2 separate regions of the Homo sapiens genome follow, and region 1 is linked to region 2. Evidence: promoter capture Hi-C in human tissues and cell types (Jung and others, 2019). All regions are on one chromosome and are shown on one strand. The core of a region is centred on a gene start or on the middle of the fragment in contact, and the rest is flanking DNA. Distances in the headings are between cores, read along the strand shown. Region 1 holds the start of LAT2 (linker for activation of T cells family member 2). Region 2 holds the start of VPS37D (VPS37D subunit of ESCRT-I).

Region 1 (5,740 bases), core at 1,294-3,793, 540 kb after region 2:
CTTCACCTCTGGACCGAGTGAGACCCTGTCTCAAAAAAAAAAAAAAAAAGCAGGCGAGGAATAGAGACAGAGGGTCAGACAGCAAGAGTCCCAGAGGATGAGACAGATGGACACAGAGACAAAGGATGCGGGATGTAGGTGGGCAGGGCAGGGACAGAGAGACCCCTGCAGAGGCCACGAGGGCAGGGCAGATGGAACAAGTGACCAAAGACAGGTGGAGGAGTGGACGGCACGAGTGTCAGAGGCTGCAGACAGCGAGGGCGCTAAAGGGTGGGAGAAGGAAGGAGAGCCCTGCTCCACCCCAGCCTTGGGGGTCTCATCACCCCACTGCACAGATGAGGCTCCTGGCATCGGGGTGCAGAGAACGGCTCATAGCACAGGCAGAGGGACCACAGCCCACTCCTGCCCAGCGGTGCTCCTGTGCCCAGCCCTGGGGTGGACACCGTGGCTGCCATCCACACAGACATGAGGACCGAGTGAGATAGTTCCCTGTGGAGGCCAGGATGCTCTGGCACCTGAGGTCAATAAAGCCACATCCCACAAGTGGGTGGACTGCCTTGTGCTATTGACCATTAAACAGCTGCCCAAGGCCATTGAGCTATTAATTAAATAATAATTATTATTATTTTAAATTTTTTTGTTGTGTTTTTTGGGTTTTTTTGTTTTTGTTTTGTTTTTTTGAGATGGAGTCTCGCTCTGTTGTCCAGGCTGTAGTGCAGTGGCACGATCTTGGCTCACTGCAAACTCCGCCTTCTGGGCTCAAGTGATTCTCCTGCCTCAGCCTCCCAAGTAGCTGGGATTACAGGCACCCACCATCACACCCGGCAAATTTTTGTATTTTTAGTAGAGATGGGGTTTCACCATTTTGGCCAGGCTGGTCTCAAACTCCCGACCTAAATAAGGTGATCCACCTGCCTTGGCCTCCCAAAGTGCTGGGATTACAGATGTGAGCCACCACGCCCGGCCTATTTATTGTTTTTACAGACAGACAGGGTCTTGCTGTCCCCCAGGCTGGAGTGCAGTGGCAGAGTCACGGCTCACTGCAGCCTCCAACTCTTGGGCTCAAGAAATCCTCCCGTTTTGGCCTCCCAAAACACTGGGACTACAGGTGTGTGCCACCACACCCAGCTAATTAAAAAAATTTTTTTAGAGATGGGGTCTCGTTCTGTTGTCCAGGCTGGTCTCAAATTCCTGTTCTCAAGCGATCCTCCTGCCTCAGCCTCCAAAAATGTTAGGATTGCAGGTGCAAGCCACTGCACCTGGCCTCTATCTCCCTGTTTCTTGCTCTCTCCCCATCTGTGTGTGTCTCTGACAGTCTGTGGCTCTCTGTATCTTTCTGTGTGTCTCTCTGTGTGTGTCTTGGTCCATCTCATGCCCAGCTAATTTTTAAATTTTTTGTAGAGATGGGGTTTCACCATGTTGGCCAGGCTGGTCTTGAACTCCAGACCTCAGGTGATTCTCCTGCTTCAGCCTCCCAAAGTGTTGGGATTACAGGCATGAGCCACCGTGCCTGGCCCATGGGTATGAATTTCTGCCTGTGTGTGTCTTCTTCTTTTTTTTTTTTTTTTTGAGATGAAGTCTTGCTCTGTCACCCAGGCTGGAGTGCAGTGGCGCTATCTTGGCTCACTGCAACCTCCACCTCCTGGGTTCAAGCAATTCTCCTGCCTCAGCCTCCCGAGTAGCTGGGATTACAGGCACCCGCCACCACACCCAGATAATTTTTGTATTTTTGGTAGATATGGGGTTTCACCATGTTGGTCAGGCTGGTTTTGAACCCCTGACTTCATGACCTGCCTGCCTTGGCCTCCCAAAGTGCTGGGATTACAGGCATGAGCCACCGCGCCCGGCCCATGGGTGTGAATTTCTGCCTGTGTGTGTCTTTTTAGCGTATGTGTGTCTCCATATCTGCCATCTGCAGGAGCACCTCAGTTTCATTATCTTGCTCCCTGTCTATTGGAGTGTATCTCTCTTCCTCTCTGTGTGACTTTTTGTGTTTATGTGTGTGTTTAGTGTGTGTCCATATTTTCCTGTTCTCTTGTGTCTCTCTGCTGTGTCTCTCTCTTTTTCTTTCTGTTTTTTGAGACGGAGTCTCCCTCTGTCACCCAGGCTGGAGTGCAGTGGTGCGATCTCGGCTCACTGCAACCTCTGCTTCTGAGGTTCAAACGATTCTCCTGCCTCAGCCTCCCGAGTAGCTGGAATTACAGACACATGCCACCATGCCCAGCTAATTTTGTATTTTTAATAGAGACGGGGTTTCACCATGTTGGCCAGGCTGGTCTTAAACTCTTGACCTTACGTGATCCACCCGCCTCGGCCTCCCAAAGTTTTTGGATTACAGGTGTGAGCCACCTCGCCCGGTCCTATCTCTCTTTCTTCTCTTTCTCCCTCTCACTTTGTTTCTCTTCTCTCTCTCTCTCCCGCCTCCTTCCCCCGTCTCCCCTCCCTTCCCCCCACCGCCCTCTTCATAGCTGAGCCTGTCCGGCAGTGCGGCGGATGTACGGATGATTCAGTGGCTGGCAGGAAGCCCGCCCTGCCCGCCCGCCAGTGTCAGTGGTGTTGGCATCAGCTTGGGCAGGTGTGCGGGCTCAGGATGGGGCGGCCGTGGTGAGGAACCCTGGACTCTCAGGTAAGCCTTTCCCAGGGGTGCCTCAGTCCTCAGGCTGTCCCCCATCCCCCAGGAGCTCCTGGCCCCACTGGGTGGGGTGGGAAGAGGCCTGGATGCCTGGCGCCCCCTCCCGCAGCCCCACTCTCACCCTGGCACCAGGCTCTGTGGCACTTCAGGGGTCAGTTTGTTTCTGGGCTTCTGGCCACTCTCTTGCCCTCGCCTTCCCCTGTCCAGCCTGTGTAGCCTTGGGACATCCCAGGGTGGTCCCATCATTGCCAGAGACTGGTGAAGTAAGTGGCCGAGAGCCAAAACAGTGGCTGCCCTGGCCTGGGAGCCTCGGTTTCCTCATCCGTGAAATGGGACTGTAACCCCCTACACAGGTCAGGGGAAAACGGTGGGATTACAGGCCAGGGCCCAGGTCTTGCCCCAGGTCAGGTGAAGAACCCCCACTGCCTCCCTGCCCAGCCCCCTACCTGGCCCTCAACTCTGTCCCTGGGACCAGGGCTGCTCAGGCCCCTCCTGCACCCGCCCGCCTCCCTCTCTCCCTCCCAGCTAGGCTCATTTGAAGCCCAGAGTTATTTGGAAAAAGCAACAGGACCAGCCGGGCACGGTGGCTCAACCTGTAATCCCAGCATTTGGGGAGGCCAAGGCGGGAGGATCATTTGAAGTCAGGAGCTGGAGACCAGCCTGAGCAACATAGTGAGACTCCCATCTCTTTAAAAAATAAAAATAAAAAAATATAATTAAAAACTAAATGAAAAAACCAACAGACCCCAGAGCAGAGTCCAGTGGATAAAGCCATCCAGGGCTTCAAGCCAGGCTGCCCCCTCCCCAACCCCAGTGTCCCCAACCACAGCTCAGCTCGGAGAAGGCTGGGAGAACCGGCAGGGTGGTCTCGAGCGTCCTTCCAGGCGGGATTCAGACACTGTAGCTCCTCCAGCCCAGCCCCGAGAACTTCCCCGAAGCCAGCTCTTGGCAATCGTTGTTCATATGAAAACTGCCCACTTCCCTTTAGTGCTATTTTGGCCTCTGCAGAACCGTGGTCTGTGGCAGCCCCCACTCCCCACCCCGCCCAGCCCTGCCGGCCCCTGGGGGCCTCAGAGGGTCCACCCTCCGCTCCCTCCACCTCAGCCCACCTGCTTTCAGAACCTGGATGGGAGAGTGAAAGTGAGAGCGAGACAGAGACACAAAGGGAGACAGAGACAGAGAGAGAGCACAGAATTTTTTTAAACGGAGTCTCACTCTGTTGTCCAGGCTGGAGTGCAGTGGCGTGATCTCGGCTCACTGCAACCTCCACCTCCCAGGTTCAAGCAGTTCTCCTGCCTTACCCTTCCAAGTAGCTGGGGACTACAGGCACGTGCTACCACACCTGGCTAATTTTTTATTTTTTATTTATTTTTTATTTTTTGGAGACAGTCTTGCTCTGTCTCCCAGGCTGGGAGTGCAGTGGTGCAATCTTGGCTCACTGCAAGCTCCACCTCCCGGGTACATGCCATTCTCCTGCCTCAGCCTCCCGAGTAGCTGAGACTAGAGGCGCCTGCCACCACGACCGGCTAATTTTTTGTATTTTTAGTAGAGACGGGGTTTCGCCATGTTAGCCAGGATGGTCTCAATCTCCTGACTTTGTGATCTGCCTGCCTCGGCCTCCCAAAGTGCTGGGATTACAGGTGTGAGCCACCGTGCCTGGCCTAATTTTTTATTTTTAGTAGAGACAGGGTTTCACCATGTTGGCCAGGCTGGTCTTGAACTCCTGACCTCAGATGATTTGCCCGCCTCAGCCTCCCAAAGTGTTGGGATTACAGGTGTGAACTACCGCACCCGGCCAACAGCGCAGGATGTATTCAGTCTGGGGGCAGACACATGACTGTTTGTTAAATTTCATTTTTTGTTTTTAGAGATGGGGTCTTGCTCTGTCACCCAGGCTGGAGTTCAGTGGTGTGATCTTGGCTCACTGCAGCTTCCAACTCCTGGGCTCAAGCAATTCTCTTGCCTCAGTGTCCCAAGTAGCTGGAACCACAGGCATGTGCCACTGCGCCTGCCTAATTTTTTCATTTTTTTGTAGAGACAGGGCCTTGTTACATCGTCCATGCTGGTCTCGAACTCCTGGCCTCAAGCGATCCTCCTGTCTCGGCCTCCCAGTGTTGAGATTACAGGCGTCAGCCACCACGCCCAGCCTGATCCCATTTTATTTATTCATTTATTTAATTTATTATTATTATTATTATTATTTTGAGATGGAGTCTCACTCTGTCTCCCATGCTGGAGTGCACTGGCGTGATCTCAGCTCACTGCAACTCACTGCCTCCTGAGTTCAAGTGATTCTCATGCCTCAGCCTCCCAAGTAGCTGGAATTACAGGCTTGCACCTCCACGCCTGGCTAATTTTTGTATTTCTAGTAGAAACAGGGTTTCACCATGTTGGCCAAGCTGGTCTCAAACTCAAGTGATCCTCCTGTCTCAGCCTCCCAAAGTATTGGGATTACAGGTGTGAGTCCCTGTACCCAGCCCGACCTCATTTTATAGATGAGAAAACTGAGGCGGGGGGCTCTCAGGCAGAGGCTAGATTTGGTCCCATGAGCCCTCCTGCAAGACAAGTTGCTCCAACCTCACAAGCCTGAGATGAACTTGGGCCATGCTGGAGGGGTTGGGGGTACACCCCGGGTTGGGGGCACTGAGGCAAGGAGAGTTTCGAGGAGGGAGAAGGGCAGTGCCCAGGCGGGCCATGGGGAAGAGAGAGCAGAGCTTTCCTCGGACAACCTCCCGGGGTGACGTGGGTCGTGCCAGTCACACGGCTCAGAAATTCACTTGTTCCCACTGACTCACTTGGCTTTTGGGGAGAGGCCTGGTGGCTTCTCTGTGATGCGCCTCTTACAGAGGCTCAGGGCCGCATGGAGATTCCCTGTCATCTTACCGCAGGGATTTGGGAAGTCCAGAGAGGTCCTGAGACTTGTCCAAAGCCACACAGCTTTCAAGGGGGACAGCCCAGGTCCTGGTGGACCTCAGGGGGATCCCAAGGCAGGAGGTAGGCAGCCTGGAGCTCCTCCATTATTATTATTATTATTATTGAGATAGAGTTTCGCTCTTGTTGCCCAGGCTGGATGGAGTGCAGTGGCGTGATCTCAGCTCACTGCAACCT
Region 2 (6,109 bases), core at 1,554-4,053:
GATTGAGACTATCCTGGCTAACACGGTGAAACCCTGTCTCTATTAAAAATACAAAAAATTAGCCGGGCTTGGGGGCGGGCGCCTGTAGTCCCAGCTACTCAGGAGGCTGAGGCAGGAGAACGGTGTGAACCCGGGAGGCGGAGCTTGTAGTGAGCTGAGATCGCGTCACTGCACTCTGACCTGGGTAACAGAGTGAGACTCTGTCTCAAAAAAAAAAAAAAAAAAAAAAAAAAAAAAAAAAATTACTGTGATCCCAGCTACTCCGGAGGCTTAGGCAGGAGAACTGTTTGAACCTGGGTGGCAAAGATTGCAGTGACCTGAGATCACACCACTGACTCCAGCCTGGGCGACAGAGGGAGACTCTGTCTAAAAAGAAAGTGAAGGGACTGTGTGAGTCCAGAGGAAAAGGGAATAACCCCCTAGCCTGGGAAGGTGGAGAGGGCTTCCTGGAGGTGGTGATATTCCAGATGAGTCTTGAAGGGGAAAGCCAATTTTAGTTGTTGTAAAAATGTAGAACTGTTTTTAAAAAAAAGTAGAAGTGTTACTTTTATGGTCTGTCAACAAGGCTGTCCTGCCGCTTCTCCCAGACATTGGCACCATGCCTGCCCACCATGCTATGGCTGGATAGGGAGAGTCCTTGCTCAGCTCTTCCCGCCCCTATGCCTTGGCTTATGGATTTCTGTTTGCTTTCATCATTTTCTCCTTCAACTTGAGAACTCCTATTCAACCTCTGAAACCCAGCTCAAATGCCACCTCCTCTGGTAAGCCTTCCTAATTGCTCTTTGTACTTTTGTAGCAGTGTATTAAGGTGGAACAAGCTCAGTTGTCGTTGTTGTTTTTTGAGACGGGGTCTTGCTCCATTTCCCAGGCTGGAGTACAGTGGCAAAATCATAGGTCACTGCAGCCTCAACCTCCTGGGCTCAAGTGATCCTCCCACCTCAGCCTCCTGAGCAGCTGGGGCTACAGGCACGAACCACCACGGCCGGCTACTTTATTTTTTATGTTTGGCAGAGATGGGGGTCTCATTGTGTTGCCCAGGCTGGGTCACTCATTGTCTGACTTAATTTCTGAGTGTCTATTTCCTGAGATGGGGACAATGGCTTAACCTATTTGTAAAGACAAGGTACAGGACATATCGGGGATCACATGGGAATCACAAAGCCATCATGAGGTGACACCTGCCATTTGTCTTATACTAGAATTAGTTGAGTGGGAATGGGACTCTGCCTTAATCCATGAACTCCCTGAGGGCAGGGACAGTGTCCCCACAGGGCCTAACCCAGTGTTCAGCGCAGAGCGGCATCGTATGCTCTGTGGACACTGTACAAATGAGAAGAAACGGGACTGTATCATTTACCTGTAATGTGACTTTGGGGAGGCGACATCATCTCTTTTTTTTCTTTTTTTTCTTTGTTTGAGACGGAGCACGGAGTCTCTGTCGCCCAGGCTGGAGTGGAGTGGTGCTATCTCGGCTCACTACAACCTCCGCCTCCCAGGTTCAAGCGATTCTCCTGCCTCAGCCACCTGAGTAGCTGGAATTACAGGCGCCCACCACCACGCCCGGCTAATTTTTGTTGGTCAGGTTGGTCTCAAACTTCTGACCTCAAATGATTCACCCACCTTGGACTCCCAAAGTGCTGGGATTACAGGCATGGGCTACCGTGCCCGGCCTCTGTGATGCTTCTGCATGTCTAAAATAACAAGTGGGTATTGACCTACTATGTGTATTCATTATAACATTGCTAGCCATATCACTATCCCTCAGCATTTTAATTTTACTTTTATAGAGATGGGGTCTTGCTGTGTTGCCCAGGCTGGTCTCAAAACTGAGCTCAAGCAATCTCCCACCTCTGCCTCCTGAGTAGCTAGGACTACAGACGCATGCCACCATGTCCGGATACTTTTTAAAAGCATTTAAATACTTTTAAAAATTGTTCTTTTCACTCTTTTTTTTTTTTTTTTTGAGACGGAGTCTCGCTCTGTCACCCAGCCTGGAGTGCAGTGGCGCGATCTCCGCTCACTGCAAGCTCCGCCTCCCGGGTTCACGCCATTCTCCTGCCTCAGCCTCGCGAGTAGCTGGGACTACAGGCGCCCGCCACCACGCCCGGCTAATTTTTTTTGTATTTTTAGTAGAGACGGGGTTTCACCATGTTAGCCAGGATGGTCTCGATCTCCTGACCTCGTGATCCGCCCGCCTCGGCCTCCCAAAGTGCTGGGATTACAGGCGTGAGCCACCGCGCCCGGCCTCTTTTCACCCTTTTGACAATTTTTAAATTTTTTTAAATAGAGACGGGGGTCTTGTTATGTTGCCCAGGCTGGTCTCAAACTCCTGGCCTCAAGCGATCCTCCCTTCTCGGTCTCCCAAATCGCTGGAATTACAGGAGAGAGCCACCGCGCCCGGCCAGCAAGTCAGCGCTCACCATCTCCAACCCCATTTTACAGAAGAGAAAACTGAGGCTTGGGGAGGGCTGCAAGGCAGGAGCCCTCGGCGCCCGGCCAAAGTCAGAAATTTGTTGTTGCCATCCGAGGGGAAAACGTGCACGGGCTCTGCAAATTGTAACCGCCCGGGGTGGGAGAGTCCGTGCCTGGGGGCGTGGTGAGCCAGGGCCGGTGCTGGGGCGCAGAGCAGGGCGGCTCAGATTCCGGGAGGGGCGGGGAGATCGGGTTGCTGGGCGATCCTGGGGTGCTGGAGGCGGCGCGGCGCGGCCGGGGCGGGGAGGGGTGCGGCCCGCCTCCTCCCTGCCCCACCCCCAGCCCCGGCGCCGCGGCTCCTTTAAGAGCGGGAGGGGCGCCCCCTGGCGGCGGAGCGGTGCGTGCGGCCGGAGCCGGAGCGGATCCTGGAGCCGGAGCGGAGCGGAGCGGAGCGGAGCCGGGGCGGAGCGGGCCGAGCGGGCCGAGCCAGCAGCCGAGCTGGGGGCGCGGGCGGGCGGCATGTACCGGGCCCGGGCGGCGCGGGCGGGGCCGGAGCCCGGCAGCCCGGGGCGCTTTGGGATCCTCAGCACCGGGCAGCTCCGGGACCTGCTTCAGGATGAGCCCAAGCTGGACCGGATCGTGCGGCTCAGCAGGAAGGTAGCGCGGGGGGCTCGAGCGGGGGGCGCGGGGGACGGGCAGCGGCCTGCGGGACCTGCCGCTCGAGGGAAGGGCCGCGCGGGCCGGGCCGCGGGGCCGCCCGTGGGCGCGGAGCCTGGCACGTACGAGTGGGCCCCGCGGAGCCACCCCCGGGGGAGGGGGCGCTTGGAGCTGGCCTGGGGCGGGTGGGGCGCCGGGGACCCGAGGGGGGCGCCTGTGCACCCCCAGGATGGCCGCGAGGCGTGTCCTACAGCGGATGCTCCGGGGAGGTGTGTTCCGGGGGGCTGTGTTGTGGGGGGCCCTGGCTCGCACACCCACGTTCTGTAAGGGCCAGAAAGAGGAGGCGCCTTCCACTGGGAGAACTAGGGGCCTGTCTGACACCTGGAGGGGCCGTTGGGGGTTCACGCATTCTGGGGGCGCAAGAGGGGGCTTTGTGCCTGGCGTTGGGGAGGGGTGCTGGAAGCTGCCGTGTGTATTGCATAGGCCACCGTAAGAGAAAGTTGTATATTTCACGGGAGATAGGCCCGGGCTGGTTGTCTGTGGGGGGCAGAAAGGGCAAGTGTGTGTTGAAAGCAGGCAGGCGAGGAGGGGCTTGTGCATCCCACAAGGGACAGATGGAGGGGAGTGCGTTCTCCAGGGGCAGGGAGGGGAGGTTGGGCCCTGCTAGAGACAAGGAAAAAGCCTTCTCCAGGGCCGGGGCTGCTGTAAGCCCGGAGCAGGGAGGAAAAGGGGGTGTGTATTCCTTGGGGTGTGAGGATTCCACTGGAGGCAGAGGAAGGGGTGGGAAGGGAAGAGAGGGTGACCCGAGGGGGTGCTGTGAGGGGACGGGGTGCAGACACCCCTCTGGAGAGGATGAGCAGGGGGTGGGAGTGTTTTCGGTGCAAACACCTGAGGAGGAAACAGACAAAGGCCTGGAGTGAGAGGGAAGCTGTCCATGCATGGAAAATGGGGCAGAGGAGGGAGGGGCACTCCTCCGGGACCTGAGCAGACATATTAATTGAAAAATTAAAAATTAACTAACATTTGTAGAGGCCTTTATAGTTTTCCTCACTTAAGTCTCTCAACAACCCCATAAGGTGGATGTTTTTTAACTCGATTTGTAAAAGAGGAAACTGAGGCCAGAGAGGGAGCTCAGGGCAGAGCCAGTTCTGGTCCCGGCCTGTCATCGTCCCTTCACCTGTTGGGTTCACCACCCTGAAGGGGTGCCTGACAGGTGCCTTTGGCCTGGCCCTCAGGCACGGTCGCCCAGTAGGGTGGACGGGGCAGTAGGGTGGACAGGGCAGATCCCCTGAGCGGGCCTCTTAGCTCCTCTCTGCCCGCAGTTCCAGGGCCTGCAGCTGGAGCGTGAGGCCTGCCTGGCCTCCAACTACGCGCTGGCCAAGGAGAACCTGGCCCTGCGGCCCCGCCTGGAGATGGGCCGGGCTGCCCTGGCCATCAAATACCAGGAGCTTCGTGAGGTGGCCGAGAACTGCGCGGACAAGCTGCAGCGACTGGGTGAGGGCACGTCTGGGAGAACCCCCTGGGGCTGGTGGGGGCAGTTGGCCATCCGGTGGGTTGGCCTTGGGAAGTGCCAGGCTCTGATGGATGGGAGTTGGGCGGACCTGCTCCTGGCTTGCTGGGCAGTAGAGTTGAGGAAGTGAGAGGAAGTGGGGAGGGTTGGGTGGGAGAAAGGGGACCCAATACGCAGGGTCCCCCTGAGATGCTGAGGGGGACAAAGCCTCCCCTGTCTCTTTTGTACTAGGACGAGGAGCAGAAACTTGGTAGGGGCCGGATCCACAAAGCGGTCACATGGGCACGGTACAGATGAGGAAACTGAGGCTCTAGACCAGGGGAAAGGGAAATATAGAATCACATGGGGTCAGCGGGAGAGTGCAAGCCCGGGGCCCTGGCCTGTCTGTCACTCTGTCCCTCTGTGGCCCTCAGAGGAAAGCATGCATCGCTGGAGTCCCCACTGCGCGCTGGGCTGGCTGCAGGCTGAGCTAGAAGAGGCGGAGCAGGAGGCAGAGGTGAGGGGAGGGGTGGCTGGGGCTGGGGGCCAGGAGGGAGACCCATTCTCTGCCACCCCCTGGCTCATTCTTACACCTCAGGCTGGGGAGCCCCTCCTCTGGGAAGTCCACCCTGAATGCCTGGCGCATGCCAGAGCCTAGCATTGCTGTCCACCAGCACTGGACAGCCAGCAGGGCTCACTTTCCTACCTGTGAATTTTTTTCGGGCTCCCCTGTGACTGGGCTAGGGCAGCGTGGATCTGGGGCTACAGAGGAGCTGGGGCAGACTTTGTGCTGGGTTGGGAGTGCAGCGATCAGTGAGCTGAAGGTGGTGGGCTCCCGAAGGACATGTTAAGTCTATACTTCACATATGTCCCTGCCTCTGCTCCTGCCTCATCTCTGATCCAGCAGGTCTGGTGATGGCATCCTTATTTTAGAAGTTAGGGCTGGGCACAGTGGCTCACGCCTGTAATCCCAGCACTTTGGGAGACCGAGGCGGGCGGATCGCCTGAGGTCAGGAGTTCGAGACCAGCCTGACCAACATGGTGAAACCCCGTCTCTACAAAATACAAAAAAAAATTAGCCGGGCGTGGTGGTGCATGTCTGTCATCTCAGCTACTTGGGAGGCTGAGGCAGGAGAATTGCTTGAACCCGGGAGGTGGAGGTTGCAGTGAGCCGAGATTGCGCCACTGCACTCCAGCCTGGACCACAGTGAGACTCTGTCTCAGGAAAAAAAAAAAAAAGTGGGAGGACATTTGTCCACAGTTCACTTAGCAAGTAATCGGAGGCAGGCCCAGGCTGGAACGCAGGTCCCCTGTCCCCCAGCTGAGGGGTGATCACCATGGGGAGGGCCTCAGGGTGGGAAGGAGTGAGGACCAGTCCCCAGTCTGTGGTCGTGCCTCTCCCAAGCCTTCCCTTCCCTCCCGGCCCAGGAGCAGATGGAGCAGCTGCTGCTCGGGGAGCAAAGCCTGGAGGCCTTCCTGCCTGCCTTCCAGCGTGGCCGCGCCCTGGCCCACCTGAGGCGGACGCAGGCAGAGAAGCTGCAGGAGCTGCTG

Evidence for each region. Contacts are between HindIII fragments. The study calls those that stand out against the background at their distance.
Region 1: a contact is called between the fragment with the promoter of LAT2 here and the fragment with the promoter of VPS37D in region 2, in 1 of the 25 tissues and cell types used here (dorsolateral prefrontal cortex).

What each region holds. Positions count from the first base shown.
Region 1 is chr7:74,207,463-74,213,202 of GRCh38, forward strand. It overlaps LAT2 (linker for activation of T cells family member 2), which reads left to right and starts at 2,544. Exons shown (of 14, transcript NM_032464.3): 1 at 2,544-2,626. RefSeq lists enhancers at 2,028-2,137, 3,358-3,477, 5,348-5,427, 5,558-5,617 and silencers at 2,418-2,467, 3,578-3,667. The HindIII fragment of the contact is 33,709 bases long and covers 1-5,740 here.
Region 2 is chr7:73,665,028-73,671,136 of GRCh38, forward strand. It overlaps VPS37D (VPS37D subunit of ESCRT-I), which reads left to right and starts at 2,804. Exons shown (of 4, transcript NM_001077621.2): 1 at 2,804-3,069; 2 at 4,392-4,563; 3 at 4,993-5,075; 4 at 5,987-6,109. The coding sequence starts at 2,932. RefSeq lists silencers at 2,415-2,464, 2,475-2,574, 2,685-2,984 and an enhancer at 2,966-3,961. The HindIII fragment of the contact is 19,506 bases long and covers 1-6,109 here.